Regions from separate parts of the Homo sapiens genome. Here regions 2, 3, 4, 5 and 6 are each linked to region 1. The links are contacts of gene promoters, found by promoter capture Hi-C in blood cells and fetal thymus (Javierre and others, 2016). All regions are on one chromosome and are shown on one strand. Each heading gives the region's core, a stretch centred on a gene start or on the middle of the fragment in contact. The rest is flanking DNA. Distances are from core to core; before and after follow the strand shown. Region 1 holds the start of GALC (galactosylceramidase). Region 2 overlaps TDP1 (tyrosyl-DNA phosphodiesterase 1). Region 3 overlaps EFCAB11 (EF-hand calcium binding domain 11). Region 4 has its middle 39 kb from the start of FOXN3-AS2. Region 5 holds the start of LOC107984635 (a long non-coding RNA gene). Region 6 overlaps FOXN3 (forkhead box N3).

Evidence for each region. Contacts are between HindIII fragments. The CHiCAGO score rates a contact against its expected background, and 5 or more counts as called.
Region 2: a contact is called between a fragment that was not itself captured here and the fragment with the promoter of GALC in region 1, in 7 of 17 cell types (total B cells, activated CD4 T cells, naive CD8 T cells and 4 more). The highest score is 11.4, in total B cells.
Region 3: a contact is called between a fragment that was not itself captured here and the fragment with the promoter of GALC in region 1, in 1 of 17 cell types (fetal thymus). The highest score is 7.1, in fetal thymus.
Region 4: a fragment that was not itself captured here is called in contact with the fragment with the promoter of GALC in region 1 in 1 of 17 cell types (fetal thymus); the score reaches 7.5 in fetal thymus.
Region 5: a fragment that was not itself captured here is called in contact with the fragment with the promoter of GALC in region 1 in 1 of 17 cell types (fetal thymus); the score reaches 5.7 in fetal thymus.
Region 6: a contact is called between a fragment that was not itself captured here and the fragment with the promoter of GALC in region 1, in 1 of 17 cell types (total B cells). The highest score is 5.2, in total B cells.

The regions. Positions count from the first base shown.
Region 1 is chr14:87,991,707-87,996,722 of GRCh38, reverse strand. It overlaps GALC (galactosylceramidase), which reads left to right and starts at 3,541. Exons shown (of 17, transcript NM_000153.4): 1 at 3,541-3,753. The coding sequence starts at 3,559. It also overlaps the pseudogene RNU6-835P. RefSeq lists enhancers at 3,204-3,533, 3,228-3,728 and a silencer at 3,684-3,873. The HindIII fragment of the contact is 1,583 bases long and covers 2,978-4,560 here.
Region 2 is chr14:89,958,260-89,963,275 of GRCh38, reverse strand. It overlaps TDP1 (tyrosyl-DNA phosphodiesterase 1), which reads right to left. Exons shown (of 17, transcript NM_018319.4): 3 at 1-168. The coding sequence starts at 161. Among named protein-coding and RNA genes, the nearest start is that of TDP1, 4.8 kb to the right of the region's middle. RefSeq lists enhancers at 1-400, 4,783-5,016. The HindIII fragment of the contact is 2,643 bases long and covers 967-3,609 here.
Region 3 is chr14:89,937,393-89,942,408 of GRCh38, reverse strand. The region is part of intron 3 of EFCAB11 (EF-hand calcium binding domain 11); the gene reads left to right. Among named protein-coding and RNA genes, the nearest start is that of EFCAB11, 15 kb to the left of the region's middle. The HindIII fragment of the contact is 1,484 bases long and covers 1,772-3,255 here.
Region 4 is chr14:89,612,944-89,617,959 of GRCh38, reverse strand. It overlaps a transcript of FOXN3 not described here. Among named protein-coding and RNA genes, the nearest start is that of FOXN3-AS2, 39 kb to the right of the region's middle. RefSeq lists enhancers at 1,010-1,069, 3,327-3,416. The HindIII fragment of the contact is 2,027 bases long and covers 999-3,025 here.
Region 5 is chr14:89,426,554-89,431,569 of GRCh38, reverse strand. LOC107984635 (a long non-coding RNA gene) reads right to left here and starts at 3,216. Exons shown (of 2, transcript XR_001751025.2): 1 at 3,150-3,216; 2 at 498-2,232. It also overlaps a transcript of FOXN3 not described here. RefSeq lists an enhancer at 1,867-3,066. The HindIII fragment of the contact is 3,380 bases long and covers 1,352-4,731 here.
Region 6 is chr14:89,302,713-89,307,728 of GRCh38, reverse strand. The region is part of intron 3 of FOXN3 (forkhead box N3); the gene reads left to right. Among named protein-coding and RNA genes, the nearest start is that of FOXN3-AS3, 45 kb to the left of the region's middle. RefSeq lists enhancers at 2,371-2,640, 3,554-3,753, 3,854-3,913, 3,944-4,013. The HindIII fragment of the contact is 4,731 bases long and covers 497-5,016 here.

The DNA.
Region 1 (5,016 bases), core at 2,292-4,791:
TGGACTGATTTATAAAAGTAAAGCCTTTTCCTGAAGTGAGACAACAGACTGCTATCATACCGTTTTATGATAGTCTTGGGGAAATAAAAAAAAAAATCCAGACTGCTATTAGAGTTTATCAATAAATTTTCATTAAAAGGCAAGATCTCTGATCCTTCTCAAGAGACTATTTGATTTTGATCACATTATTTTATTTAGAAAAAGGAGAGATTTGGGGTGGCTGAAGTATAGTTGTGATACTTAGAAACACCTGTTATTTAAGAGAAAAATCATCGTGTTTCCTTTGGCAGCACATTTACAAACACTGGAATGTTACAGAGATCAGTGTGGCCTCTGAGCAAGGATGACATGCAAATTCTTGAAGTGTTTCAGATTAAAAAGACAGAGAGAGAAACACTGTCATTACTTTTTAAACTCATTTAAAATCTGAAAACTGGGACCTTCCTTTCTTACCGTCTTATCTCACTGACCCTGATCCACAGACGCAAGGGAAGCTAAGCATATGATCACTCGTGGGGTAACTGTCATTTTTCTTTATCTCACATCTTGAGCACATTTGAGTGCCGTGCCCAGCACTCCAAGGATTTCTGTCAGCATGTATTTATTGGCCTTTTATTAGAAACTTTCTTACCTCATGTCTGCTCTCATGAATATAGATCAGAAATTAGAAACAAAAAATATTTATCTGGTAAGCAATTTCTTTGGTAACTGAACTAATAGGAACTACTGGGACTTCCTGGAAGTGAGGCTACCTTTTCCATTAGAGTTTATGCTTCCTCTTTTGTAGACTTCACACATTGCTCAAATATTTGTGGCGTGCATTCCAACTACAAGGTGCAATTGAGGGACGAGAAAAGGGAAAACTTAGTTGGGCAGACAGCTAAAGTTGGTCTTTGGTAAAATTCTTTTAAACAGAAAGACAGCCTGAAAAATCAAGCTACAGGCACACATAGAGTGGCCTGGGGAAAACTCAGGCAACAGCTGCCCTGATAAGAAAGGAAGGCCCAACATAGAAGCCTTTTGTTCTTTGTGTGATTAGCAGGTTCCCAGGAAAAAGTTTCTTCCCCTTTTCAGGCACATACATGGTGGGCTCTGTGGGAACTTGCATGGGGGTGGAGAGGGTGATTACCTAGAACCCACAGTTACACAAACAAGAGAAGCTGAACTTTATCCTTACCCAAGACATACCCACAGCTGCACAGATAAGGGGAGCTGCACAGATAGCTTTACAAGTAAGTTACACAAACAGCTACAGAGATGAGAGGAGTTTCTTATAAAAGCTTTTGGATTCAACTGTAAAAGTGGCAAAATGGCAAAGAAAGAAAGCTTTCTTCTTTCATATAATAAACTTTCTCTTCAACCTCACTCTGGTGTCCACACTCCTTAATTCTCTTGGTTGTGAGACAACAAGCTTGGATAACACCTCAGACAACGAGACCACTGACCACTGACCCGTTTCACAATGACGTACTACAGGATGGTGTATGCTGGGTATTCATACATCGTCATGCAACTTCCTAGTTTTATGTGTAAGGTAGTTTCCTCTGTCATCACCTTGGTATTTCCCATCTAGTCACGGTATTAAGTGGGTCTTATGCGCTTGTTAAGAGCTGGTAAGAGAAGCTTAACATTCACTTGATGGAATGGTTACTGTGGCTTGTATCCACAGGAGCTCCAGCTCATGCTTAAAATACTGTGTTAGAACAAATGGATCAGAGTGAATTCTGTAACAGTAAATCCACAGAACTGAAAATTACTGACTTGCATCATAAACTGGTTGCAGTGGCAAGGCAGAGAGTTCAGATTCGTGTTGTACTGGGGAAAGAAGAAACCAAAGAAAATAAGTGGTTCATACACAGGGGACTATTTAACTGATCCAAGCCAGAAGACTACTGAGGGTGAAAGGAGCATTATCAGTAATTATGTTTAGACAAAAGTTGTGACTGTCCTTAGTAAACCAGGATAGACGTAGAGTCAATTCAAAAAGAAAGAAAGAACAAACATATCTAATGTACATTAAGAACCCAGGGATATCGGGTTCTTAATGTGCATATTTATTGGATTGCCCAGAGCTTTGACCTTCAAGTATAATTGAGTTCTTGAAACTTAGATTTAGGTTTGTGGTTAAGGGGCAAAATAATCAGATTCCAAATAGGGTTCTGCAGACAAATCCCACAGGTCCTAAAGTCTCTGGGTCTTTTCCTTGCCATTGTGGTATCTCAGGGGCTTGTGTAGGCAATGATAACCAGTTCCATACTTCTGCTAAGAGAAATTTGGGGATCAGAAAATCTTTCTCTGCAGCTCTTCAGAGTCTCTTTAATTTACTTCAATAACAAGGAAATCAGAAATCTCAGGACAGTGCTGGATGTGGCAGAAATTCAGGGCAATTCACAACTTTCCTACCAATTTAGAGTTACCTGTCTGGAATCACTTCAACTGACAGTGGAAGATAGTTTATAAAATTGTAGGGGAGGCAAAATTTCACCTTCGTCCCTGTAGGGTCCCAGCATGGCCCTAGTATTAAATTGATTTAAGATATTAATAGACTGACAGGAGACAACCACACAAATGTTTATTTTACATAGCACGGGGGCCCTCATTAAAAAAAAAAAAGACCTAAAGCAGCAGTTAAGAGCCAATTGCTTATAGAGTGAAATGGACAAAAAATAGTAGTTGTGAAACATGATAAGGCGAAGGGGCTTGGGGTAAAGAAGCGACTAGAAAGATAGGGATTAACAAATTTTGTTTGGACAGATTTCCCTCGACTTCAACTTTCTGTCCTTGAAGATAACAATGTTATTTTATAGGGAAGACATCTTTCACATGGGAATTTCATCTCCTCCTTTTAAGACACATAATATCCATGACAGTGATCTTGCACCTGCTGTTTTTAAGTGCCTTTAATTTAAAATAGTCAATATGCCACAGCAGCATATTTTGAGGTGGTATATTATTAACTCCTTCAAGGCTAAAAGCTTTGAATATGCCGGGGTAGTTACCAGACTGGAGAACCTTCTCAGCTATTTGCCACTTGTGGAATGCATTCAAATGTACTGAGTGCTTATTAACTTTTCTCTCAGTCCCTCACTCTGCTGCTCTTCTCGCCTCATCTCACATAAGGGAAAACTCAGGCTCCAAAAGCAAAGTGATTCCACCAAGATGACAATGGAATCGGGACCTGGTGTCCAAGCCTGGTCCTCGCACGAGGTAGATACTCCCTGAGATGCTGGGGAAGAGCCATGGTAGGGCCACTCATGGCCCTCTTCCTTTGGCGGACCTTGGAATCCACCTTCCCTGCGTTAAAGTGCTCCACCAGGTGACGCCGGAAGAGAAGCCAGCAGTAAGTACATGTGAAATCCAGTAGCTGACCACAGACACGCGAGCGATAAGAAAAAGCTCGCTGCTTCTTTTCTCAACACTCCGCCAGCTGCGTCAGAGGCCCTTGACCCGCACTCAAAATGGCGGCGGCGGCGTCAGCATCAGCGGCCTCCTGCCCGTATCTATCGTGGCGGCGACGGGACCCGCCTCCCTGGGCGCCGGAGTCATGTGACCCACACAATGGCTGAGTGGCTACTCTCGGCTTCCTGGCAACGCCGAGCGAAAGCTATGACTGCGGCCGCGGGTTCGGCGGGCCGCGCCGCGGTGCCCTTGCTGCTGTGTGCGCTGCTGGCGCCCGGCGGCGCGTACGTGCTCGACGACTCCGACGGGCTGGGCCGGGAGTTCGACGGCATCGGCGCGGTCAGCGGCGGCGGGGTGAGCGGCAAGCTGCGGGGATACGCGGGGGGCGGCAAGAGCCCGCCCCGTGGGGCCAGCCCCACAAGCCCCCGCGGCGTTGCCCTGCGTTTCCACCGGCTCCACTCTCCGCCGCATTCCCCTAGGGTGCCAGTCAGCAGGCGGTTGGGGCGGGCCCGCTGCGGGGCTGGGGCGGGTGCTTTCTCGTTTAACACGAACCAGACAGGCAGTTAGGTTTGAACAAATGAGGATCCGGAGGTCCAGAGAGTATAGGTGCAGAGAGTAAAGTGACAGGTCTAAGTAGTGAAGTAGCCGGGGCTGGAACCCTCGTCCCAGGCAGTGGGGCACAGGCTGTCTTCATCGCGGAGATGGCAGTCGGGGAGCGTCGCTCCAGAAAGGGCCAGGGAGTGCGGGAGCGTCCGTGTGCGAAAGAGAACGCCCCAGTGGGATGCTTTGGCTGTGTCTCTCCCTTTTGGAGGAGTTGGTGGGTGGTGGAGTCGTTAAGTCCCGTGCAGTTGTTAGTGCAGGGTAAGAATGGGCTCCTCCAGAGAGGGTAGCGCCGAATAGGATTTCGTTTGGAGGCAGGACTGGTGCCTCAAGGTCTCTTTAAAAGGAAGATAAGCGAGCGGCCTGAAACTACCGGGTACTCCCTCTGGGCCCATGGGCTTCATGGTGGCCGACCTTTGGGTGAGAAGGTTTTTGTTTTTTGGTTTTGTATCCGAAATTACATCTAGGGCTAATGTTTCTTGAAAATGTTAAGGTTGAACTCGGATTTTTGGGGTTGAGTTGGATGGAGCTTGCATCCTTACATTCAACTCAGAACAAGCTTGAATGCCTGCTGCAAGGATGACCTGGTCTGTAGTGTGACCACAAGATATAACCTTCTGCTAGGGGAAATTTTTTTCCCCCTGGAGTTAGCTGATCCTTTTTGATTTTTATGTTTTCATTCCCTAATTTGCAATCTCTCCAGCCGTGCTGATGTGTATTTCAGGGGAAACCTGTGGGCCGATGAGTTAATGCATTTATTCTTTGCTACTACTATTCTCCTTTTTATGTTTTTGGGCTAAACCTGAAACAGCCAATATTTCATGGAGTGAGGCCCCATCTTTTTTATAGCTTTACTTGTGATACTATATCTAGGGTAAGAGCTTACCGAAAAATGGAAGTCTTTGTTTCCATTAGGTTTATTAAGCCCAGTTTAAAATTACTAAGATGAGAAGAATCATTTCGTAATTCAAAGTAGGAAACTCCTACCTAATCTGATAGAATATACAATTATTAGTA
Region 2 (5,016 bases), core at 1,039-3,538, 2.0 Mb before region 1:
GCTTTCTGGGCCTCGGAACAGGTGTACCTGGGCTCATTTGCTGCTCCTTGCCTGGCACAGAGAAGAGAAGAGGTAGATGGCTTGTCTGGTTTTGGCTTTTCTTCCTCACTTTCATCACTACTAGATATGGTCCACCTCCCATAATCGCCTTCCTGAGACATTATACTCCTGGAAATGAAAAGTGGAAACATCAGCATTTCCCATTCATCAGGGCATTGGCAAAATAACTTTATTGCTCTCAACTTCCCTGTCAGATGAGCTGACACCTTCCAGAGGCTGAACCACCTAACATCAGCTGCTTTTTGGGTGTTTATAAGCACATTACCAGAATCCACTATCAGATTCTGCCAAATCACAAGCAAAAGTCCTGGTCACCTTTCTTTTTTCTTCCTTTTTTTTTTTGAAACAGGGTCTCGCTCTGTCACCCAGCTGGAGTGGTGCAGTGGTTCAATCTCAGCTGACTGCAACATCTGCCTCCTGGGCTCAAGCAATCCTCCTGCCTCATCCTCTCGAATAGCTGGAACTACAGGTGCACGCCATCACGTCTGGCTAATTTTTTTTTTCTTTTTTTTTGGTAGAGACAGGGTTTCATTATTGTTGCCCAGGCTGGCCTTGAACTCCTGGACTCAAGAGATCCACCCACCTTGGCCTTCCAAAGTGCTGGGATTACAAGTATAAGCCACCATGCCTGGCCTTGGCTTTCAATCTAAACTTTGTTCTTAGATGTCCTAGGAAAGGGGGTTGAAGAATGCATCAAGACAAATGCCAAAATAAAACAAACATTCATTCTTGACCCCGAAACTTCCAATAAGCGTTTGGGATTAAGGTCCATTTAATCTATGTTCAAATGCTTAAGGTCAAATTGGAATTTACAAACCTAGCCTTCACCCAAGTACAGGCACCCACAGGACTTCAGTGATTATGTATGTCTTACTTCCCAAAAGACAACCCATTTACCATAAAGCTTAACAAAGTCTTCAAGAGGAAAGCCAAATGACCACTTAGGTATGTACATTATTTACACTACTTCCATGAGGACCCAACTAATTATAATTAGTTGGATATAATTATATCAAGATATAATTATCCTATTGGCTACATCATAAATCTACTAACACCTACACAGAAATAACTTGTACTGAAGCAACACACTTTTATTTTTTAAGCCCCACAGTCAAATTCTACTTTCTTGTTCTGAGAACAGGAAAGTACACGAAACAGTCACTTTTGCTGTTACCTACCAAATCTTGTCAATTCAGTGGTAAAGGACTATCTAAGTAGACTTTCCAGACAGCTAAAGAACAGTTCCTCAATGTGATACTTTTAACATTTTAGCACAAGACCCAGGGGAAAATTACAAAACTCAGTAGTCTGTGCTCAGATCAACAGTATCTTCGAGTTTCTGCTGTTTTAATGAGGCTGGAAAAGATGCATTGAGTGGAGTAAACCAAGATGGTGACACTCCCTTCACAAAACCTACATTCCCCAAAAAAGAGAATTCAACATTATTCTACATCAAAAGATTTGCAAATCAATACATATGCATATGTCTCTAGATGAGAACTAAAAATAAAAATCTTGGCTAAGGGGACCCCAGAGAAACCTTAAAAACTGAGTTCCGGGCCATGATGAGATGGGAGCTCAGACATGCCTGTTATATCCCCTCCCTTCTGCGGTTTAAACACAACTGACCAGAGATCGTAAGACTGGCAGAATAGATTCTGTGACAATATGACACTAAATCATAAACAAGACCTAAGGCCATGCCAAGCAAGGGTTAAATCACACACTGCTACCTTTAAACTATGTTCTACCTTCCACAAGGTTCTTTTTTCTTCAGCAGCTAAATAAGCACTGGCCTAGAGATAAGGAATATCTAAACAATTGCAGCTCACCTACTGCCAGATGCTTGACTAACTGACCCCTCTGGTTCCACAGGCCATGACTGCAGCTGTCATTGGACAATGGAGTAACTTTCTCCTGAAAAGAAACCACAGACTGGTTCTGACCAGTCCTCAGAGGCTGAGCACTGAGTGCCTTCATGTCTCTCCTTCACCTTTTGACAGAGGGCCTAATTGTAATTCATTCAAATGTTAAGTCTCCATCCCAAAGTGAACACGAGATGCACAAAACACACGTTTGCTCATTACACATGCACACGTGTCCCCCCTTGGTGAATATTCATAGCTCCTCCCACACCTGTTGAATACTATACTTGGCCAACCCATTCAGTATAAATCTCTGTTCTACCCTCTCCTCCCTGGGATGCCATTAAAGGTCTCTGCCTGAGGCTGTGCTTCCCAGCCTGTCAGGCCACACTGCAGGCTGTAGCCCTTTATAAGAACTAAGCTCTCCTTTCTAAATGTATAGATCTCATGATTTTTTCAGTGAACACAGCAGGGCGGGGCAGGGGAGGGTTGGAAATACTTTAAAGGTATCTATCCCTTTTCACAATTTCTCTCTTCACCTTTTTCAATTAACTACCAGTCAAGTTAAGCAAGCCTTCTGTAAATTACACATTTCAAGGAACTTTTATGCAAGAATGCATCAAGACAATAATCTGGCCCATTCTTCATGGCTCTGGGTCATTATTACCCTACCCAGCATGAACACACTATCTCACAGCCAAAGCCTTATTGACTGTAGAGAGGGCTGGGGCCACTTGCTCCTGTAATAGTGACCCTAGACTGTCTGGCTCTTTTGAGCCCTCATATCTGCTTTCTAAAAGTTTCTATTTATTTCTACACTCTGTCCAGCCCACTTCAAGGGGTTGTTAAAACTCATAGCATAGGTATATTTTCCCTAAATTGTTTCTAATCTGCTAAGGGTTAAGAAACTAGATAACTGGGTTTGTAGAACTGTATTGTCATGGTTAAAGGGGTCTGAGTGCCCAGTTTCCTCCATGAAAGAGATTCAGATTGATTTACTACTCAACACCTACTTAAGCAGCTCAGAGGTGGTTTTTTAAATGTTTTTAATCCTTCCGGTTTGAAAAAAAAACCCACAAAACCTTAGGTTCCTCTAGTGTTCTAGAGTCTAGAAGTTGCTGGATAGGGGTATTTAAGCTGTTACAATACACTTTGAAGAAACTATTTCAGTGGCTACAGTTTCGTGACTTTAAAGTTATCTAGGAACAAAAGAACCACCTTAGGAAAAACCACTCTCTGAATGTCAGCTCTAGGTTCCTTTGAATTCTACAACAGTTCTAAACCAAGGCGGTGAGTAATAGAATCTTCCATTACAGTCCTCAGGCTGTTCTCTATAGATACCTTGCCCATTCTAAAGTAAGTAGCAGGTCTTAGTTTTTGGTGAGAAAGGATTCAGCTTCCACTCTCAGAAGCAGTTGCAGAATCTTAAGAGGCTACCATAACAAATATGGTTGCCTGCATTATATAAATAAAATGGAATTTCCAAACACTGAGAATTCTGTGCTAAGTACATTATTATGTACTAAGAGTTGCTAAGGTAAAATCCTTAGCAACTCTGTGAATTATTTAGAGAATTTCAAAGGTTTTTAAGTTTTATCATTATCTCCATTTTCTAAAACCATATGGAAGTGGAATTCCCTCCAACAAAGTAGGACAAGAGGATAAAAAATAAAACAAAGCTTTAAAAAAGACATTTTCTAGAGAACAAAGCCTTTTTTTGGGGTTCTGCTCTATAAAGTTTTGGACCTGCTGAAACTCAAAAATATGCCTGAGTTGCTTATTACAACCTAATACAATTTATTGGGTTACAATTTAGTGCAACAGACTAATAAAATTGTGTCTTGTTGTTAAATGTAGCAGCTTACCAACCTCTTTATGACATCAAGGCTCCCGCCCAGTTGGAAAAGAACTGCTAGTAAACACCAATATCAAACTTTTACTTTGGATAACTGGTCACCAGTAACAGAATTTACTTCCCTCATAGAGGCTCTGGTGCCCAGCATTTCAGAGTGCTTTGTAATCAAGTCATACAGTTTTAAGAAATGTAGAACCTGAGAGCTTTCCTTCAATTGTTTATCATCTGTCTTCCCTGCCTGGGCAGTGCTTGGTACAGCATAAATCTGAAGTCACACTTTTTGTAAGTGGTACTGAAAGAATCAGAATACAATATAGCTGTGTTGATTCTGAATCCTGGCACTCAATCAGAACGGCACAGTGTTTCCTGAAGTGGAAGTGATTGGGACCTGACATTATGAAAGTACTTCCCTTTCCATTCCAATCCAAACTCCCTGTTTAAATCAAGAAGAAAGTTGTAGTGTTGTAGAAATGCTTTTAATCTTGATTTTGAACAAATAGCAGGGTTTGGGCTCTTCTGCAGGCACCAACAATTTTGTTTACCATCAACAGAAGGTATCTTATGGCTACGTTATATTTGAAATAGCAAAATAAAGTTTATTTTATGTAAAAGAATGATTGGATTCAAACAAAAATATTAAGTATATGATAGTCTATGTGATAGCGGCAGGAGGCAGACAAATCCCTAGGCAGATAGGGGCAGGGCCCCAGTGAAACCCCACCTGCAAACCAAAGACAGTTTAAAGCCTGAAAGCCAAGCTACAAGTGTTGGGTAAATCCACGGACCGGATTGATAACCCCTCTTCCCACTTGGCACACTTTCCTCTGATCAATCCCCACCCTTCACCTACTTTACATATATCTACCCTTCCCTAATTGGTTTTTTACATTGTCATGCCCACCTTTGAGTGGTGCCTTTGTTTTAGCCTTTTTTGCATACTCACAAACCATGGAGCACACACTCCCTCATTCTGAGCCCATAAAAGCCCCAGACTCAGTCACACCAGCGAACTGCCCACCTTGGGGTCAGGGCAGGGGCCATCCACTTGGGGTCCCGTCTCTGCTGAGAACTGTCTCATCACTGAGTAAAACTCACCTCCGCCCTTTTCCCCTTCGGTTGTCAGCCTAACCTCATTATTCTTGGACGCAGGACAAGAAATTCGGACCAGCTAAACAGCGAGTGCAAATAGAGCTATAACCCTGTAGCACTCCGTTCCGCTAGTGAAGCAATGGG
Region 3 (5,016 bases), core at 1,264-3,763, 1.9 Mb before region 1:
GGAATAATAAAATAATAAATACTTGGCAAAATCCTTTTACAGTATTTATTATTATTATAGATAATTGCAGCAATCATTTCCTGAACAGTTATCATGCAGATCTGTGATGAGCACATTCATCTGTGATGATTGTTATATTTAATGTAACTATGATATTATGATTATCCTCTGTATTAGTCCATTTTCACACTGCTATAAAGAACTACCTGAGACTGAGTAATTTATAAAGAGGTTTAATTGACTCACAGTTCCACAGACTTAACAGGAAGCATGACTGGGGAGGCCTCAGGAAACTTAGAATCATGGCAGAAGGCAAAGGTGAAGCAAAGACCTTCTTCCCATGGTGGCAGGAGAGAGAGAGAGTGAACGGGGAATTGACACACTCTTTCAAACAACCAGATCTGGTGAGAACAACAAGGGGGAAGTCAGCCCTCATGATTCAGTCACCTCCCACCAGGCCCCTGCCCTGACAGGGATTACAATTCGAGATGAGATTTGGGTAGGGTAAGGACACAGAGCCAAACCATATTATCCTCATTATATTTTATTTATCATTTTAGATGATTATTTTTGAGACAGGGTCTCTAACTCCTGGGCTCAAGTGATCCTCCCACCTTAGCCTCCCAAAGTGCTGGGATTACAGGCATGAGCCACTGTGCCTGGCTATCCCCATTTTAGAAGTTAAAAAACTCTGGCCATTCATGGCGGTATGCACCTATATTCCCAGCTACTTGGGAGGCTGAGGTGGGAAGATCACTTGAGTCCAGGAGTTTGAGACCAGCCTGGGCAACAGAGCAAGACCATATCTCTGAAAAAAAAAAAAAGTACTAAAAAGTTTAAAAATAAAAAATAAATAAATCCAGAAGCCTAGCAAGATTAAATAATTTGCCCAGAGTGGCACCGGTAGCTAGTAAGTACCAGACCAACGTGATCCGACCTTCTAGCTCACCCTCTTAACCAATTGATGAGCCCTTCCTTTGATTTTTAATAGTGCCATGGGTCATACTCCTAATTGTGACAAAATCGAGGCCAGTATTCATTCCCCTAAGGAACTTTATGAATCAATGAGTTGAAGTCAGGAGTAGAATCAATACACGAAAAACAAATCACCATGTTCTCTATAGTTGTTAGGCATTAATTTCAAATTTGGTTCTGGACTACCTAGCATCCAGAACAAATAGGAAAACACGAGCAAGCACAGCTGCAGTCAGGGTCCATGCAACAAAACAATTTTTCTAGAGAGGCATAAGTCCTCCTGCCCTGGGATAGTTCTTCTGTGATGTCTCATGGAGGGGAGGCTGCTGAGTGGATGTCAGTGTCGATGAGCTGTTCAATAAATGCAGTAGTGAATTTTGTAAGGCTGTTGCTTCATCTTTTCTCAATGTAGACCAGTGTTTAATGTCAGGGCAATTCTATGAAGGGCAAAGGCTGTGTGTTCCAAGTATACATATCTCAGGTGGTCTGACTTTATTCCAGAATAAATTGTAGATCATTCTATATAAATAACAACAGCTAAGATTTACAGGGCTTTTCTTTATGCTAAAAGCTATAAATAAGAACTGAATGAGCATTGTCCCACTGAATCCTCATACATTTGTCTCTTTGTTATTATCTCGGATCTATGTAAAATATGCCTAAGATTAAAAACCAGAAAAAAGGACTTCAGAATTTTGTTTTCACTAGGCGATTAGATTGAGCATCTTTTCTGTTTCCTTATACTATTGCCATTTTAAATTAATGAACATATTCTACTTTGATACTTGAAAAAGCTTTCCAGGAACTTACTTTTAACCCTCAACTTTGAATGATGGAAAAATCAAAGCGATTGATTCATCATAGCAGTAATTATGGACTGTGTGACTGCTATCCAGTGTAAGGTCCAATTGAAAAATAATTTGTGGATGAGTAGGTTAATGGTCAGTTGGCTTGCATGCTTTTATTTATTAATATCTTGTCTGGCTTGTTCTAAACAAGACAGTTGACTATTAAAGGTATTATTTTTCTAAATTTAAATATCCTTTTTCTGGTCTTAGTTTCTGTCATAAAACACCTGCTGTTGTGTATGGTTTTTTATTTTGGCTCCTATGGAACAAAGATCAGGGTATAGCAGGGATGAAGGTTTTGGTTGATTTCAGATTTCAATTGGCTTCTTAGTTCTTTTCTATAATCAGGAAACTGCATACACATTAAGGTTACCTTATTTTGAAATTATAATCGTAGCATTTTATGGAATCTCCTACAGATATTCACCCATCCATGTTTATTTAATTACCCATTTAGAAAACAGTGAATATGTTTCACTATACAGATGGGGAAGAATTAGGAGACACAGACACTGACCTAAAGACATTTAAAAATATATATTTTATGTGGGCTGGGCACGGTGGCTCACGCCTGTAATCCCAGCACTTTGGGAGGCCGAGGAAGGTGGATCACGAGGTCAGGAGTTCAAGACCAGCCTGGCCAACATGGTGAAACACTGTCTCTATTAAAAATACAAAAATTAGCTGGGCGTGGTGGTGGGTGCCTGTAATTGCAGCTACTCCAGAGGCTGAGGCAGGAGAATTGCTTGAACCTGGGAAGCGGAGGTTGCAGTGAGCTGAGATCCCGCCACTGCACTCCAGCCTGGGCGATAGAGCAAGACTCCATCAAAAAATGTGTATATATCTTATGTGATAGGGAAGATGAAAGAAATATTGCCACTTCTTTTACGGCCAGATGTTATATTACTATTATAGGCAAGAAAACCTATAAGAGTTCAGGAGGGCAGCACTGCCCCCTAGAGGAGGTGTGGGCCTGGAGCTGGACATGCTGAAGGATGGGTGGGATTTGAAATAGTGATGGAGCAAAGGAGAAAAGAGGCGGTAAATGAATGCAGGGCAGGTGCCAGCTGTGTGCCCCGCCTCCTGCTCCTGTTGCTGGTGCTGTGCTCTCTGTGTAGAGTTCTTCAGAGACCCTCTTCTGTGCTGTCCACGTCAGTGCCTGAAATCTTTTCTTCCTAGATCCCTGTTCTTTTACAAATCTCTCGCCCATCTCAGATTTGCATACCTAAATATATCAGCTATCATGCTGTTAATGCAGTCCTCCCATTAACAGAATCTACTCTTCTTGGATTTTTACTTTTTTTTTTTAACCTCTGCAACAGCAAGGAATATAGTATGTAACTATAAATGAATTGTGTCCAGCCGAGTCAGCTGGCATGATGAGAGCTGGGAAGGATTAAGGACCGGTGTGCACGGAAGGAAGGATGAAGCTTTAAAGTCCAGAATAAGGTATTAGGACTTTGTGGTGTTTGACACTGAGGAACCTTTTAAGCTTTATGAGCAGGAGATGTGTATAATAAAAAAGTAACAATTCCTGCCTGGGTTTGATAGAAATAAGATTTTATTGGTTCAGATTTCTCTATTCTACTGTAACTGGTTTTTTTTTTTTTTTTTGCTTTGTTGTTGTTGTTGTTGTTTTGTTTTTTGAAATGGAGTTTTGCTCTTGTTGCCCAGGCTGGAGTGCAGTGGCGCGGTCTTGGCTCACTGCAACCTCTGCCTCCCGGGTTCAAGCCTGGAGGTGAACATGTGATTCTTCTGCCTCAGCCTCCTGAGTAGCTGGGATTACAGGTGCGGCACCACCTCACCTGGCTAGTTTTTGTGTTTTTAGTAGAGACAAGGTTTTACCATGTTGGCCAGGCTGGTCTTTAACTCCTGACCTCAGGTGATCTGCCTGCCGTGGCCTCCCAAAGTGCTGGGATTACAGATGTGAGCCATCACACCTGGCCTCTAACTGTTTTTACTCATTTTCCCTCCAATTATATAGTAAAACTTGATTTCTTCCATTAAGGTAGATTATTTTCTCTTTATTTCCCTACACATCCATAGTAAGCTGGAAGAAAATATTATCCTCTGAATTCATTTATCATAGGTGACAACTCACTATTTTTGAAGTCACTTTCACCTACCATCCTTGCAGTCTTTCTGTGCGAACACATTATATCCTTCTCCCACCCCTTCACTGTCATGGCCTCCAAAAGTCATAATTTGAATTTTGTGTCTCAGACTAGAGAAGGCATTATGTCTTTTGAAAGACTGCTTCATCCTTTTAAACCCTAATTTTTAAGCATTTTTTTAACTCCTGGAAAAATCAATATGTGACACAATGAACATGAACCCTTCCTTTCTACTAAATCTAGGACCAGGCTTACTGTCCAAATAACTTGCGATTTTTATTGTTTTCTCCTTCACTCTCCCCAGGTTTATTGCAGTTTCTAAGTTGAGCTCACTGTGATAGCCAGATGCTAGACTCCTTCATTTTCAAGAGGATTTCTCTGTGTGCACTGACCCTGAAGCTTAGAACTGTGAACCACAAAAAACTATACTTAATGGAACTTTCAAGTAAAAAATTTATATAGTTTTGTTAGACTTTTTGAATTTATCTTCCCCTGTGGTGAAAGATGATTACCCTCCTAAGAAACTGCTTAAAAACAAACAAGTAAAAAAAAATAATCTTTCTAGTCTCTCTCTCTCTATATATATATCTGTCATAGATATATATACATGTATTAAGTAGTTTGGAAACTAAAAAATATGTACATGTTGGCCAGGTGCAGTGGTTCATGCCTGTAATCCCAGTACTTTATGAGGCCGAGGCAGACGGATCACAAAGTCGGGAGTTCGAGACCAGCCTGGCCAATAGGGTGAAACCCCGTCTCTACTAAAAATACAAAAATTAGCCGGGTGTGATGGCACACACCTGTAATCCCAGCTACTCGGGAGGCTGAGGCAGTAGAATCGCTTGAACCCAGGAGGTGGAGGTTGCAGTGAGCCAAGATCGCGCTGTAGCACTTCAGCCTGGCGACAGAGTGAGACTCCATCTAAAATATATATATATATGTTATAGAACATGAAGAGAGTCCATTTTACCAAGGATTGTTTATAAAATGGAAGGAGATGTTTTCCAGTTGTACAAAAAAATGCATGGACTTGCAGGGTCAAGAAGGATTTGTAAAGATCATTGGTCCAGTGGTCT
Region 4 (5,016 bases), core at 763-3,262, 1.6 Mb before region 1:
GCAGAGCTCTGAAGGCTGCACGAATGACTGGAGCCCACTTTAACTCTCACACTGATTGGTCAGTTAGATTGAGACTTATGAAAACAGTCACCCAAAACCTTCTTTTAAAATCGTGCTGTAGTTTCAGATAGCCCTCTTGTGCACAGATTTCTGCAGGGTCGGTTTTTCATTTGGGTGCAGTTTGCTCGAGATACCTTTATGTTTAATTTTTTGTTGTTGTTTCTATCCACATAAAGTAGGCCATTTTGGTGACAAATTTCTTTGCAGACGTCAGCTACTAGCTTACACGTATACACAGCACTTTACAATACATTCTCAATGATTTCTGCTCATAAGTTGTAGAATGCAAAGTTGTTCAACTTAGAATAATGATTCCTAACCGGGTTTTGATCTGAGTCTTTTAAAAAAAGGACCATCAGTAGATGGATGCTTAACTGTATCATTACTTTGATAATTTAAGTGCCTTGTGCATTAGCACGTTTCATGCACTAAGTCTAAAACTGTGACAGTGAAAGGAAAAGACAATGAAAAGCAAACAATCAAAATCAGCCTGCACACTATTCTGAGAGATTGTGGCATCTGCTTTGAGGCGAATGCATTTCACATCCAAGAGGAAGGGCATTCTGCACCATATAAGAATATGAATTAGTAAACACTGTGAAATGTTATATCTGTAAGACAAACTGTAAAGCCCATGAACATCTTCATTTGAGCCTTTAAAGCGATTTCATTAAAGAAGCACTGTCCCAGAAGTTGTTAAATGTATAAACACTTTTCTGATTGGCTTAAAAATTTAGACACAGGAAGTGGATTGTATCTAATAACCGATGAGTGGAGACATGGTTGTTATGGAAACCGAGAGGAGTAACCCCACCCCACCCCCACTACACATACATACTCTACCATGACCACCACTTAAAAAGAAACAAAAACAAAAACAAAAACAAAACCTGCATGTCATCACAGATGCCTGGAGAACTTGTTGGCTTCTGTAAGCTTTCCCACAGCATCTGTTGAAACCTGAGATCGCGCCTGTCAAATCAAGGTCATTTTACAACAACAACCAAAAATGTGGTCTCCTAGATTTCATAACTGTATTTTTGTTGGAAATATTTGAGGAAAGAGCCTTAAACTAAGGATGAGCCCCCAGGCTTACTTTGCATTTTGCTACCTCTGAGCTGTGCAAGGGAAGGCTAAGAACAATGTATTTGAACACTTAATTGTGGGATCAAACTGACTTGTATGTCTACAGTTAGAACAAAACTCTTTTGAGAGCCAGAAAGGTTAGAATGTTACCTGTGGATGAGGATTCATCGGGGGAAGTTATAATGAGGTGTTTGTGTTTACAAGAGGGTTCAAAGTTGAACTCAAGCAATGGAACTTACAGACTGGTGGCATTTTGAAGGCTGCGTTTGTGTGTGGGGTGGTGGGGGTGGGGTTGGGGAGTGAAAGGGAGGGATGAAGATTGCCTGGTACTTTGGGAAATATAAGAGAGGGTGTTCTCAGAGGCTAACCAGGGAAAGGAAAATCTAAATGAAAATAAGAACTGTTTCAAAAATCCCATTATTATTACCCAGTTGACTTAAATAGAAAAGTTTCCTCTTTTGTGGATGGGGAAGAGTGCTTTTGTTTTTAGGATAATTGAGACGTTCCCAGTATCAAAATTGCAAATATTTCCAGTATCTTGGTAATGATTTCCATGAGGACTATAAAGAAAAAAGTTTGGAGACCTCCCCTCCCCCTAGCCTCCACCCCCAACCCCGTTCATTTTGCTAAGCAAAAAATAACCAGAGGCCCTGTACTAAATTTTGACTTTGAGGATCAACATCGAACCTTGTAAAATATAAAGCAAATACATTTCTTATATTTTTCTAATCTTGTTAATGGCAGTCTTCAGATTTTATGTTCTTGATATTCATTTAGAAACGTCTTCCTTTAAGTCATGGCAATTTGAAGCATTGAATAGCTTTATCTTAATTGATAATGGTCAGTTTTAAAACTTGTTCAATTAACAATTTGGTCTTTTTAAAAAGCAGCAAATTTCCCTTATTTTCATCAACTAATTGCATGGGGAGTGGGGAGGAGGAGAGTCCTAACTCTATTTTAATGTTTAATATTCTGCATGTATGTCGTAGAAATATATACTGTAGAAGTTAAATATTTGACAACATGGGATTATGAAATATATGCTAAATCACCCAGATATTTAACTGATTAGGACTTGGTAAAGAAGATTAAGTTTAATGGGACAACTGGTCTCTTTTAGCAAGGATTTCCTGTAGGGAGCTTTCTTATCTGCAAGTGTGTTCATTGGCAGGAAACATGTCAGTTGCTTGTTTTTACAAACTGAAGGAAATGAATGGGATTTGTTGGTTTCTAGAATCTACCTTCATTCTCTATTGTCTTGCAAATAGTTGGCTCAGAACACTTCGTTTCGAAAGGGGCTTTGGAGTGGTACAATTCATTCTCTGCAAACCTGTGGCATTTAGGTTTATTTCTTTCTGATTTTGGAATTAGGAAAATTGATCGTGGTACAACCATGTGCAACTTATTTTCCTAATACAAATGAACAAGATGTTCAATACAATTCCAATTCATTTTCAGTTGTCAGCTAGTTACTCACACACTCACTGAAGCTGCTGTTTTTGGATGGCTATGCCAAATTTCTAATAATTATTCCAGAATACCAACCAAATGCCAGTGTCGATTTTGGATTAGTGTAGAGAGGTAAAGAGAAAGAGGCAGCTTCATTCTTCTCATTGCTTATAACAAAAGGTCCATAAAGAATACACGTTAGGTATATGCCAACCTTGCTGATAGCAAAAAAAAAAAAAAAAAAAAAATCGAAATTGGGGATGGGTTGGCTAAATCCAGTTTATAGTACACATGAGAAAAACAAATTTTAACTTTGAAAGGATTTGCTGTGCAGAAGTCTGGATTAGTTTCTGAATGTTGAAAATGAGTATATTTAATTGCTTCAATTCCTAGATGTTTCAAATTCGGGAAGAGGAGAAAAGGGTAAGCTTCTTTAAAGGAAAATAAATGCATCCGCCTCCATTTGCAGAGAGCAGCCTGGTGAGGGAGGTTAAGAGTGCCTGAGGGAGACGGAACCATTTCTTGCAATGGTTTGCACACATTTTCATAGACATCATTTTTGTTTTCTACTTAGCAACAAATAGAATCTTATGCAAGACCCTAATATATGAGTCAAATAAAAACAGAGCTGCTCTGAGGGAACTAGGAGCCCAGAGCCTGCTATTGTCACCTGGGCTGTGCCCAGGGCACACTCTGGAACCCAGTACCACTGTGTACACAGTTTGCAAATCACTGCTTCTAAAATGTTCTCTAGAGAAGACCTTGGGGAATTGCTTGCAGAGCCCTGGAACCTCTTAGCGAAAGAGAGAACTTTTGCCTTGACAATTTAAGAGGCTGCTTGTGCTCATAGTGAGCAGGAAAAAGGTGGCAATTAGTGACGTAATACAGTGTACCCTAGGAAGCCTACGTACATACAGAAAAAGATGACTGACCACAAGCATGAAAGAGCCCTGGCCCAGTCTATAATGAGAGGGAAGGCATATTTTTAGGGGTTACTTATAAACCAGGGCCCCTTTTATTTATAAATTATAGGAACATCATATGGAGGTGTTTGAGATTAGTTGGTTATAATTTTGCTGGAAATGCATGGCTTTATTCTATTTCCACCTCAAGATCTGTTCTATCACTGTTATTCTATTAGTCAGTGAAAATAATTTCATATGAAGTGTCATTCATGAAATGAAAATTTGCCAAGCTATATAAATCTGCTTGGCAGACTCAGTAGTGTTTTGAGTGTTGAGTAAAATGATAACACACAGATGATATTTGCATATCATCAAATATATTCACATTATCTCCTCAATGATGAGATTGTTCTGAAATGGCAGTATTGAGATCGGGCTCAGTTTTCCCCCTTACATCCCAGAAGCTGTCAGTATTGAGGATTTCTAGGGGTGGCAGGCAGAGGAATCCCCTTCAGTTCCACTCTTGATTTTCACAATCACTAGATTCACCTCTGCCTGGTATGGAGATGAGAAATCAGGAGACTCTTCATTCAGGCAAACCGCAGTAGAACTGTGCTGCTCATGGCCACAGCCAACCTCCCTGCATTGTTTCTCAGAGGGAGTTCAGTTGAGGAGTCTATAGAAGTAGAAAGGACAGACCCCTCTGTACATTCTCCTGTTACTTTCATTGTGCTTGCCATGTTTCTACTACCTGCATGGGGTTAGAGATGACAATTAAAATAATAAGTTTTCCAGGAAGCCAAAGATCTTCCAACAATTTGTGCTGGGAAAAAAAAATTACATATGAAATATTTCCTTTACAAAGATGAAACTAGCATAAGGACCAAATAGTTGGCTGTGGTAACGATGAAATGATCGAAATGATGGTGGTTAACTATTGAATTGTGTTGACTGACGCTTTTCATGTTGAGGCTGTTTAAAGCTATCTCCTTCCTCCTCCCACCTGCATTTCAAAGAAGAATGAGTGTGTAACCAACAGAACCGTCCCAGGGTGTACTCATGATAATGGAGCAGTGCTTCTTTGGGAGTGAGCATTAAGCTCCCATGGTTTGGGGGACTTTCTTTTTGAACTGAAGGATACATGCCAGTTACCAGGACCTTGCTGAAGTTGCTAACAGGTGGCTTCTCCAAATGTGTGCCTAGTACCTTCGCAGTGCCTTTGCAGATGCCACTTTCTTAAGGTTCAGAGAGTAGCAGGTCCCACTTGGAGAGGGATTTTAGTATATTATACAAGTTTAGATTTTAGATAATGTAAGAGTTTTTTTTTTTTTTTTTTTTTTTTTGAGACAGAGTCTTGCTCTGTCGCCCAGGCAGGACTGCAATGGCGCGATCTCGGCTGACTGCAACCTCCGCCTCCTGGGTTCAAGCAATTCTCCTGCCTCAGCCTCCTGAGTAGCTGGGATTACAGGTGCGTGCCACCACGCCTGGCTAATTTTGTATTTTTAGTAGAGATGGG
Region 5 (5,016 bases), core at 1,792-4,291, 1.4 Mb before region 1:
ACAGAGGGTCAAAAGAATGGCTTTTGACTAGCTACAGAAACATGGATAAAAAACATGCTGGCCAGGCGCAGTGGCCCATGCCTGTAATCCCAGCACTTTGGGAGGCCGAGGCGGGTGGATCACCTGAGGTCAGGAGTTCAAGACCGGCCTGGCCAACATGGTGAAACCCTGTCTCTACCAAAAATACAAAAATTAGCCGGGTGTGGTGGTGGGCGCCTGTCATCCCAGTTACTTGGGAGGCTAAGGCAGGAGAATCACTTGAACCCGGTTCAAGTGAAGCTGAAGAAGTTGCAGTGAGCTGAAATCACAACACTGCACTCCATCCAGCCTGGGAGAGAGAGAGAGACTCTGTCTCAAAGAAACAAGCAAACAAAAAAAAATGTGCTAAACACGTAGAGACCAACCACATTGCTGTCAGTAGGTAGTGAAGCACTTTCCTATAAATATTTCAGGACTCTTCTTTCTCTACTTAAAAAAGAAAGATTGCTTTGCATTTCAGACAACGGAAATGACTGGACAAGCCTTTAGGTCATGTGCAAGAAACTGAGAAAACCATTTTCCTTAAATGGAGATGGAGTTTGGCACAGTCTGAGGTTCAAGTTAGAGCCTGGGTCTTAATTTGCCTGCAACGCATGATTTATCATGCCTTTAGCAAGATCCCCGGCCCAAGACCATTCATTTCACCCCTACAATCTCAAGGTGTGTGCAGGGCACAATTCAGCTTTAAACTTTTCTGCTTTTACTTTTGGTTAGGCAGAACCTCCGTCTGGTGGTATTTGAATATGAGTGTTTTCTGTGGCCCTTTTCAAAGTATTCAAAGTGGTTTAAAAATACATAATGTTCAGAGATCTAAGAGCTAACGGAAGTACTTATTTGGGCCTTTTAAAAATAAAAAAATCAATTAAACAGATTTGAGACTCTTAACTCTCGCGATGTCTTCAAAATAGATACTAAGATTAAAGAAAAAAGAAGGCTTGAAAATCATAGGACTACTTATCCACCCAGTCATAATGCTTTTAGTAGTGACAGTAGTAGCAAATAGCACAGTTTATAAAAACAGAAGAGCTAAAATTCTTTATTTAATATTAAACAGGAAACCGAAAGTAGTCTGCAGCAATGTGGTGGGTTTTCAGCAACCTGCTGCTGTGTTTATCTGTGCTGAAAAAGCCTAAATGAAACATTTCTTCTTTGATTGCCTTAAGATTGTAAGTTTGAAGGAAAATCCTTCAAACTGGAATCATGACCACTGGAAGCAGGTTCTGTATGGTAAGGTTTTGAAGCAACCTGTTTCCACCAGAACCAAAGGAAATTTGGAAGCAAATCAAAAACCTCTCAAAGAGTGGAAAAAGCTTTGTACTTTTATTTTGCCTTTGTGCATTGTTGTCATTTATCCAACATGTGCATATGAATATTCTTTCTGAAGACCTGGGCTTCATTTTAAGGTCAGCCTTCAATTTCTAGAGAATATAATTTGCTGCTATTTTTAGAGCATCATGATTGCTTGTAATAACTAATGGAAAAAAACTCAGAGAAATAAATGTGTAACAGCTGTGTCTGCTTAAACTTGATTAAAGGCAGTAAAAAAAAGTAAACAGAAGAACGAATGTGACAATAGACAAGGGGGAGACAAGTATCTCTCTCATTGTGAAAACTTTTACAGGCATAACTTGTTCCACTTTGGAAGGCCAGCGATGTCTGTGTTTAAAGTTTACTTTACTGTTTGTCTTGAGTGGGATCAGTGTTGTAGTGAATAATTTATAGCCAGCATGAATGAGCTCATTAGTCACCTTTTCAGACTTTAAATGAGTTTTGTGGTTGTCATTACTCGAGCCTTCTGTTCAGCCGCGGAGCAAAATGACAGTTTGGCAGTTGTTGCTGGGGCCGCCTGTTCCCCTTCAGGTCTGTGTTGGCTTTTGTATTTCGTTGAATCCTTCCCTGGCTAACCCTTCGCTGGTCCAGGCAGCAACTCTCCCACTTCACATGCCTTTTGCACCCCAAGTTTAAATGAGAAGTTTTTCAGGCTTCAAAAAAAAAAAAATCAGTTGTGTCTGCCAGAGAGAATGGGGGAATGAGGTGGATGAAATGAGCTTTTTCCAGCAACTCCTGGGTATGATTCCCTTTGTGCTTGGTTTGATATTCAAGCTACTCAAAAGCAAAAAGCAAGCCAGTGCGTTGAGAGGCAGCGGAGCCAGGCTCCCACATGGTGCCAGGCGTTTTAGACCGAGGATGTCACTGGAATTTGGAGGGAGAAGGATGTTTCAGGGTAGGTTTGAACTGTTTCAATTCTGAGTATCAGTGTGATGAGGGTAAAGAAACTTGCTACAGCAAATAAATCTGCGAGGCCAGATTTCCACGGACAAAGAAAACTGCATTTTTTCTACAAAGGGGTTGACAGCATGACTTTTCAAGGTCGCAGCCAACACGGAGGTCCAGGATCACTGGGAATGGTCATTACCTCTTCCCCATCTCTGTGCCTCCCAACTCCAAATCATTAAGAGAAAGCGAACTGTTGCAGCTGCCTCCTCACTGAGCCCTTGGAGACATGCCTGGGAGGCTGGTATGTGGGGAAGACAAGCCTAGGCATGCCAGTAGCAGGTGGGATTTCTTTGGAACGGATGTCATGAAGTTCATCCCTCCCATTGAACCTGGCCTGGGCAGCCTCCGGAGAGCTCTGCCATTCACTCCCTGGGACTGGCCTCCATCCAGAAGTCCAGGACACCGTGGCATGCCCACCTTGGTCCTCAGGTAGCCTCTGCAGGCACTCGTGGGGCGTGGAGGCCTGCGCAGGGTGCCTTGGCCAGGTGCTTGGACCCCTGCGCTGAGGTCTCTCTGACGTCTGCTGCGAGCAACAGGCACTCATGGCTGCCGTCACCAACGTGGGCAGCACCCCCTCCGGGACCCATATTGTTAGACAGCTGGCCTGGCGCTGTGTGAGGCATAGAGGAAACATGTTCAGGATTCCTCTCTGGAAGCAATGCCAACTTAAAAAGGACGCCTGGTTGTTTGGGGGCCAAATCTTTGAAACCAGTCAGAATCACGTCTTTGAGTGCAGAGAAGTGAGGTGCTGTTGAACATACCCACAGAAAGAGCTAGCAATTCACCTGCTTGCTTCCTTTCCAGCCCCGACCCTTTTAAGATTGAGTACTCACATGCAGTCACGTCTCACAATTTCTGGACACCTTTTGCCTGCACCTCAACCTCAATATTAAAGGCACAAGATACACTATTTTGGGAAGGAGTGAGGATTTCAAAACAGAAAGGGTTGGTGAACTTGACTAGCCAATGAAAAGAGACTTCAGGTTTGGCTGTTGTAATAAATGGAATAAATTGCTAATCTCCAAAAAAGAACTTTGTGCTGCAGGGAAATATGTTAGTAATCATTTAATCTATATTCTGTTTCTCAGAGAGTTCATCAAATTCAGAGCTCTTACTTTGTTTTAAAAAGACTCTCGTAGAGAGAAGAATCAATTGTTTTCTTTCACACCCCTCTGAAAAAGTAAAACGAGAGAAGTTATTTCTTGGCGTGGATAAGACTTTGGCAGACTTAGCCACCGAAACCCATGAGACTATGGTACTTGGTGTACTCACTAAAGAGAGGAAAACAATAAAATCTCTTAAAAACTTTGGAGGAGGAAAATGTTGATGAGGCTACTTTTCTCTGACTGATCTGTAGAGTTAATAGATGCCAGCTTGAGAGAGGGATAAAAAGGAGACTTTTTTTTTTTCCTGTTAAGTGATCAATATTTTTTATTACCACTGTGCCATGTGCTATGAGCAGAAGAGAAAACAGAGTCCCTTGCCCCTCAAGGCACTTACACTCTGTTGGTGACGTTCAGTATCTAGTTGATTTATTTTTTTATTACAAAGATACACCATACTTTGTTGATTATGACATAGAAGTTGAACTTTGAGTTTTTGCAAGTAGTGCCTTTTCATTCAGTTAAAAAGTCCTGGCCGGGCACGGTGGCTCACTCCTGTAATCCCAGCACTTTGGAAGGCCGAGGCAGGTGGATCACGAGGTCTAGGAGCTGGAGACCAGCCTGGCCAAGATGGTGAAACCCCATCTCTACTAAGAATACAAAAAAAAAAAAAAAAAATCAGCCGGGCGCAGTGGTGGAGGCCTGTAATCCCACCTACTTGGGATGCTGAGGCAGGAGAATCGCTTGAACCCAGGAGGCGGAGGTTGCAGTGAGCCAAGATCGCACCACTGCACTCTAGTCTGGGCAACAGAGCAAGACTCCATCTCAAAAAAAAAAAAAAAAAAAAAAGTCCCCTTTTCCTTCCTCCTCTTGTGCTTTTTTTCTTCTTTTTCTTTTTCTTCTCTTTTCTTTTTTTTTTTTTGAGACAGAGGCTCACTCTGTCGACCAGGCTGGAGTGCAGTGGCACGATATCAGCTCACTGCAACCTCCACCTCCCTGGTTCGAGCATTTCTCCTGCCTCAGCCTCCCAAGTAACTGGGAGTACAGAAACCCACCACTGCGCCCGGCTAATTTTTGTATTTTTAGTAACAGAGTTTCACCATGTTGGCCAGGCTGGTCTCGAACTCCTGACCTCAAGTGATCCACCCGCCTCGGTTTCTCAAAGTGCTGGGATTCCAGGCGTGAGCCACCGCGCCCGGCCCTCCTCTTCTATTTCTCGGTCACAATTTTGTCTCCCTTGTACCCCACGGGTCCTGTCCTTCATGTCCTAGGCCCCTGAGAGGTTCTCTAAGAAGCCAGGTGTTCTGAAGCTTTCCCAAACTCACTGTGTGGGTTCAATTCCCAGCCCCATCATTTACCGGCTGTGTGTTATGAGCAAGTGGCCAAACCTCTCTGTGCCTCAGAATCTCAGTTGATAAAATGGGGATAATAATAGTACCTACTTCACATGATTAATGTGAGGCTGAAATGAGTGAATATTTTCGGAGCTTTAGAACACTGTCTGGCATCCAGTTAAGTGCTATTTCGGTGTTTGTTAAATGCAGTCAGTCCTCATCATTGGTAGTTTTTGTATTTGCGAATTCACCCTCTTGCTAAA
Region 6 (5,016 bases), core at 1,613-4,112, 1.3 Mb before region 1:
TGGTTATGCAAAAACTATGGGTTGTAATAGGATGCAAACACGTGTCTCCCAAGAATAAGCAGAGGTGCAGGCTGCCAACGAGCTTTAAGAAATACTGTGGCTCGGTAAATGGAGAACCGAAGGGAGAGAGGGTAGCAAAAGCAAAGAGACCTTTGGTGTTTCCGACTTTCACGAGAGCCTGTCCAAATTTTCATCTGCATCAGCACTTTTCTAGCAAAGTTCACCGGCCATCCAGCATTATCTGGTGGGCGGCCTTATTTACACACATATATATAATTGATTCCATATTCCTCTCAGACCTACAAACAGTACCCATGTTTGTTTTTAATAACCAGAATTATTTCAGCTTAAAAAAAGGTGTAGATTTACATAGACAGTCTGATGAGTGCCTCAGATTGTTCCATTAGTAACACAGAGGAGAAACAATCTTAAGAAAAACATTTTGAATTTGTGTGTGGAGGTGGAGAGAGGATTGGGTTAGTGAAATCAGAAAGCTTCCAAGTAATGATTATTACATTTAATAATAATTAGATTAGCGTTCCACAGGGACTGTTTTCTGGAAATTTTGGTAGGACAGTCACTGAGTAACACACACACTCAGAGCAACCTAGGTTTCAGGCCATTGGGTGGGACATGGCCTATTTGCTTTGTTTTGGTCGCGTTTAAAGTTAATCCAAAATCAATTTCTTTTTCAAGATTAAAATGTCACTACTCTGTCTTCCACTTCAGGCTTCTGCAAACTTTTTCTATGAAGGGTCATGTAGTAACTGTTTAGCACAAAATAGACGTACACATAAACAAGTGAGTGTGTTGTGTCCCAATAAAATGTTATTTATGGCATTGAAGTTTGAATTTCATATAATTTTCACTTGTCAAGAAATAATATTCTTCTTTTGATTCTTTTTTCCCTGACCATTACCAAATGTCAAAGCCATACTTAGCTTCCAGCTAGTACAGTTTGGTTCATAATTTGCCAACCCCCGTCCTAGTTCTGACTTTGTAGTCAGAATTTTGTCTTTTGGGGAGAAAACTCCACTTTGCATATGAAGGAGAACCAAAATGGGCCGGGCGCGGTGGCTCACGCCTGTAATCCCAGCACTTTGGAAGGCTGAGGCGGGCGGATCACGAGTTCAGGAGATTGAGACCATGCTGGCTAACACAGTGAAACCCCGTCTCTACTAAAAATACAAAAAAATTAGCCGGGCGTGGTGGTGGGCGCCTGTAGTCCCAGCTACTCAGAGGCTGAGGCAGGAGAATAGCGTGAACCCAGGAGGCGGAGCTTGCAGTGAACCGAGATGGTGCCACTGTACTCCAGCCTGGGCAACAGAGCAAGACTCCGTCTCTCCGTCTCAAAAAAAAAAAAGAGAACCAAAGTGTGTGTGTGTGTGTGTGTGCATGCGTCTGTGTGTCTGTGAGTGTGTGTGTGTGTGTTGAGCTTTTCTGTTTCTTCAGCTCCCCTCTTGGGGATGAAGCAGGGTCTCTAGACATTAGAACTCCGGTTGTTGGAGCCTGCCACCAGCAGTTTAGTGCTGATGGCAAGGAGGCTCGCCTCAGGGACTGAAAAACTCTTCTCCACACAGAGAATTCTAAATGACTCTTGAAATAGAGGGAATTGAGAATGCAGACAAAGGCAGAAACTTGAGAGGAAAGCTGCTGAGCATTATATGCACATAGCTCTGTAAGGGTTGTGAAAATGGTGGTGGTGTTCTCATAATTTCTTTGCAAATATATATGTATTTTAAAAGGCTTAGGTCTCTCAGCTGCTTCTTTTCATCCTTATTCTTAGAGAAGTAGGCAAAAGACATGCTTCCACAAATTATAAACACCTGGTTTTGTTTAGTATCCTATTGAGGGAAATTAGGAAAGTTGCAGAAACATTCAGTTTTCCTAAATTGTTTTACAAAACCTGTGACAATGCACTGCAGACATATGCATTGTATTTAGTTAGATCCGTTTAATAAGAATCATTCTTATCAGGGCACCTCCCAAATCCTTCATAAATATAAGGCTTTTAAATATTTGTCTCCTTTTATAATTAGTCTAGATTTAGCAGTGGGTCTTCCTGATTTGGGAGGAAGCATGCTTCATGGTTGCCTGGCAACAGCTAATCGTGGTATTAGGGGCCAACAAAACAGTTGGCAGAAACTGTAAATTCTTTTGTCTTGTTAACAAAAAATGATAGTTAAAGATACAGCAGTATGTTAAGTCTGTTCTGTTGTTCAAACATATAACTTACGTGATAAATTCCTATGCTAATATAACCTCAGTGTGCTGCTCAAATTTATAGCTTGTTTAGAGAACCTGCTCACTTCGTACTTGGGTCACATGTCATCTGCTCATGGTACTGAAACTCATCGGGTAGGACAGTGATGTCATAGAGGCGTCCTTTTCTCAAGGGCTCTTAAGATGAATCTGAGGTTTTTGTTGAACGATGGGTTCTGAAACATATGTGAAGCTCCAGCATAAACGTCTGAAGTCAGGATTCTGGTTCTTAAGCAGGAGCCGCGAGTTCACCATCGATGACCTCAGTTCCCATCTCCTAGTGGCCCTCAGTGGGTACAGACACCAGCACCCGGCCTGTGTGATCCGTCCTGGTGCTGGCCAGGCCTTCCTCTCGTCCCCTCCAGATCAGCCGGGCTCAGCGTAAGTTTTCTAGGACAACTTCGTAAAATGAATTCTCATTTCATAAGCAAATATAGTGTGAGTCATGCTTTGGCCACATAGAATTAAGAAGGAAGAAAAAACACTATTTATTTGGTTGGTACTTTTTTTTTTTTTTTTTTTAAGAAACTACACTGTATTCCAGATTTGTCCGCAGATCACTGTCAGCTTCCTCTCCTCTGGGTATATGTTTTTAAAGGACGTTGTCTATTATGGGTCAGGGTCCCCCGCTCCACCAGGCACTTCGGTGTGTATTTTCTCACTTAACTCCCAGCTCTGTGCAGAAGGTCTGGGAGACACCAGTGCTTAAGCCAAGTTTTATGGGGGCCAGACGAGGAGCAGCCGGGTTGAATGCCCAGGTTTTCTCTGGTTTCCAAGCCCATACTCTGCTTTATCCTTAGTTTTGGGCCCAGTTTTCAGAACACATCCAGAATCATCCATTTGCCCAGCAAACCAACATAAGGTATCAAATGAATGGCCAAGATGTTGAATGTATTTCATCCTTTGTTTCCTTGATTTCTAAAAAAACAGCCCTTAGATATTTTTAACAGAATTTTTAAAAAGCACCCCCTGTTGTCTAAGTTCTCTTTTCTATATGATCTTTGCCGCCTCTCCTGCCCCCACCTCCACCATAGTCAGAAATCTCACATCTCAACAAACATCTCTCTCCTGTCTTCACCGCGGTTCTGCTCACAGCCACTTTCCCCTTCAAACTGGACATTTTGGATTTTCCCTGCTAACCTTACCGCCCCTTCCCGCCCCTTCCCGGGCTCCAGCTCAGCAGGAAGAAATGTCGTCAGCAGAGGCTGCAAACCCAAGCCTGTCCCTTTTCAGTGGTATTTTTACTACGAGCTGAACTACTTCAGCATCATGTAAACACGCTGGAGTGTGTTCACAGCTGCCTCTCTTTTAAAGTTGAACCAGCTCAGAACTAAAAGGGGAACTGCTTTCAGGTTCTGTTCAAGTTTGCATGTGACAGCATCAAAGCTATTTTTAGCAGAGTGATCACCGGCAAGAAGCTGGAAACGGCTGCCTTCAACTATCAACAGTGGAAAGAAAGGATCATTTATGGACTGCTGCAGCTCTTGAGTCCATTTATATGGGAGACACAGGGGTGTGTAAATCTCTTCTTCAAAGTTACAAGGCGTCTTGTCCCCCATCACCTTTGCAGAGACAGGGCAGTGTTAATTTAGTGCTTGGTTGCCTGGGCTCCAAGTTAAAGTAGATACACTGATAATAGTGAATTATAGGACTGTCCTCAATGTCTGTTCTGAGAAGAAGGCGATGTATAGATGCTCAGAAACATCCATTAAACTTTTGAAGTGTTTGTATTGTTTCTTCAGTTTTCCTTTTCTTTTCTGTAGATCACCAAACTCAAGAGACAGCAGGAAACGGGAGGTAGTTATGTAAGCATCATGGCAATGAAGAGAGCATGAGTCACTTACTAGCCATGCGACCCTCATTAAGTGACTTTTCCTTTCTGAATTAAGTGTTCTTAGCTGCAAAATGAGGATCATAATACCAGCCCTATATACTTTATAGGGCTAGTTTTTTTTTTGTTTTTTTTTTTTAGCAGATGTTTATTGAACACCTACTCCATGCCAGCTCCTGGGGACATGAGCTGAATCAGATCGTCAGTGTCTTCAGAGAGCTCACAGTCTAGCTCCATAAATAACTAACTTATAATACCCTGTGTTTCATGGAAAGGAGACAGCATAAGACAGATAGGATCTGCTCTCAGCATGGAGGGAGGCAGGAAGAAGACAGGAGGAGCAGTATTTTCAAGACAGCATAAAAGTTTGCAAAGAAAACAAGGGAGTGAGGGACATTCCAAGCAGGGGCAACTGAGTAGCAATGACAGAGGTCAAAGGCGCTCTGGTGTCTCCAAGGGACCATGAGCAACTTGGTATTGTCAGAGCGAAAAAAACTAAAAGACAAGGGGTGGCAGGAGAAGCTGGAGCAAGTGGAGCCAATTGTTTAGTGCTAAAGAACCTGGAAGTGGCACAGGTCACAGGGAGCCAGGAGTCATTTTGAGCACACGATTGACTGGATTATACACAAATTAAAGTGGAGTCATTGCTAGCAAAAGTCCCTGAATCTGTGTATATGAAGTGGTAGCAGTTTAGTGCAGGCAAAGAATGCCCTACACATAAAGTGTCCTCCCTGGAAAGGCTAAGCTGTAGCACAGTACTAAAACTTGGTGGCCTGTGACTCCTTTGAACAATGCCTTTGAAGAGGGCGGAGGTGGGCAGCCTTTGAAGAGGGTGGAGGTGGACAGAGAAGGGCAGATGAAAGGGAGAGAAGTAGCATACCTTCTCAGACCCGATTGGTACTGGGCTCTGCAAGTGGCTTTGG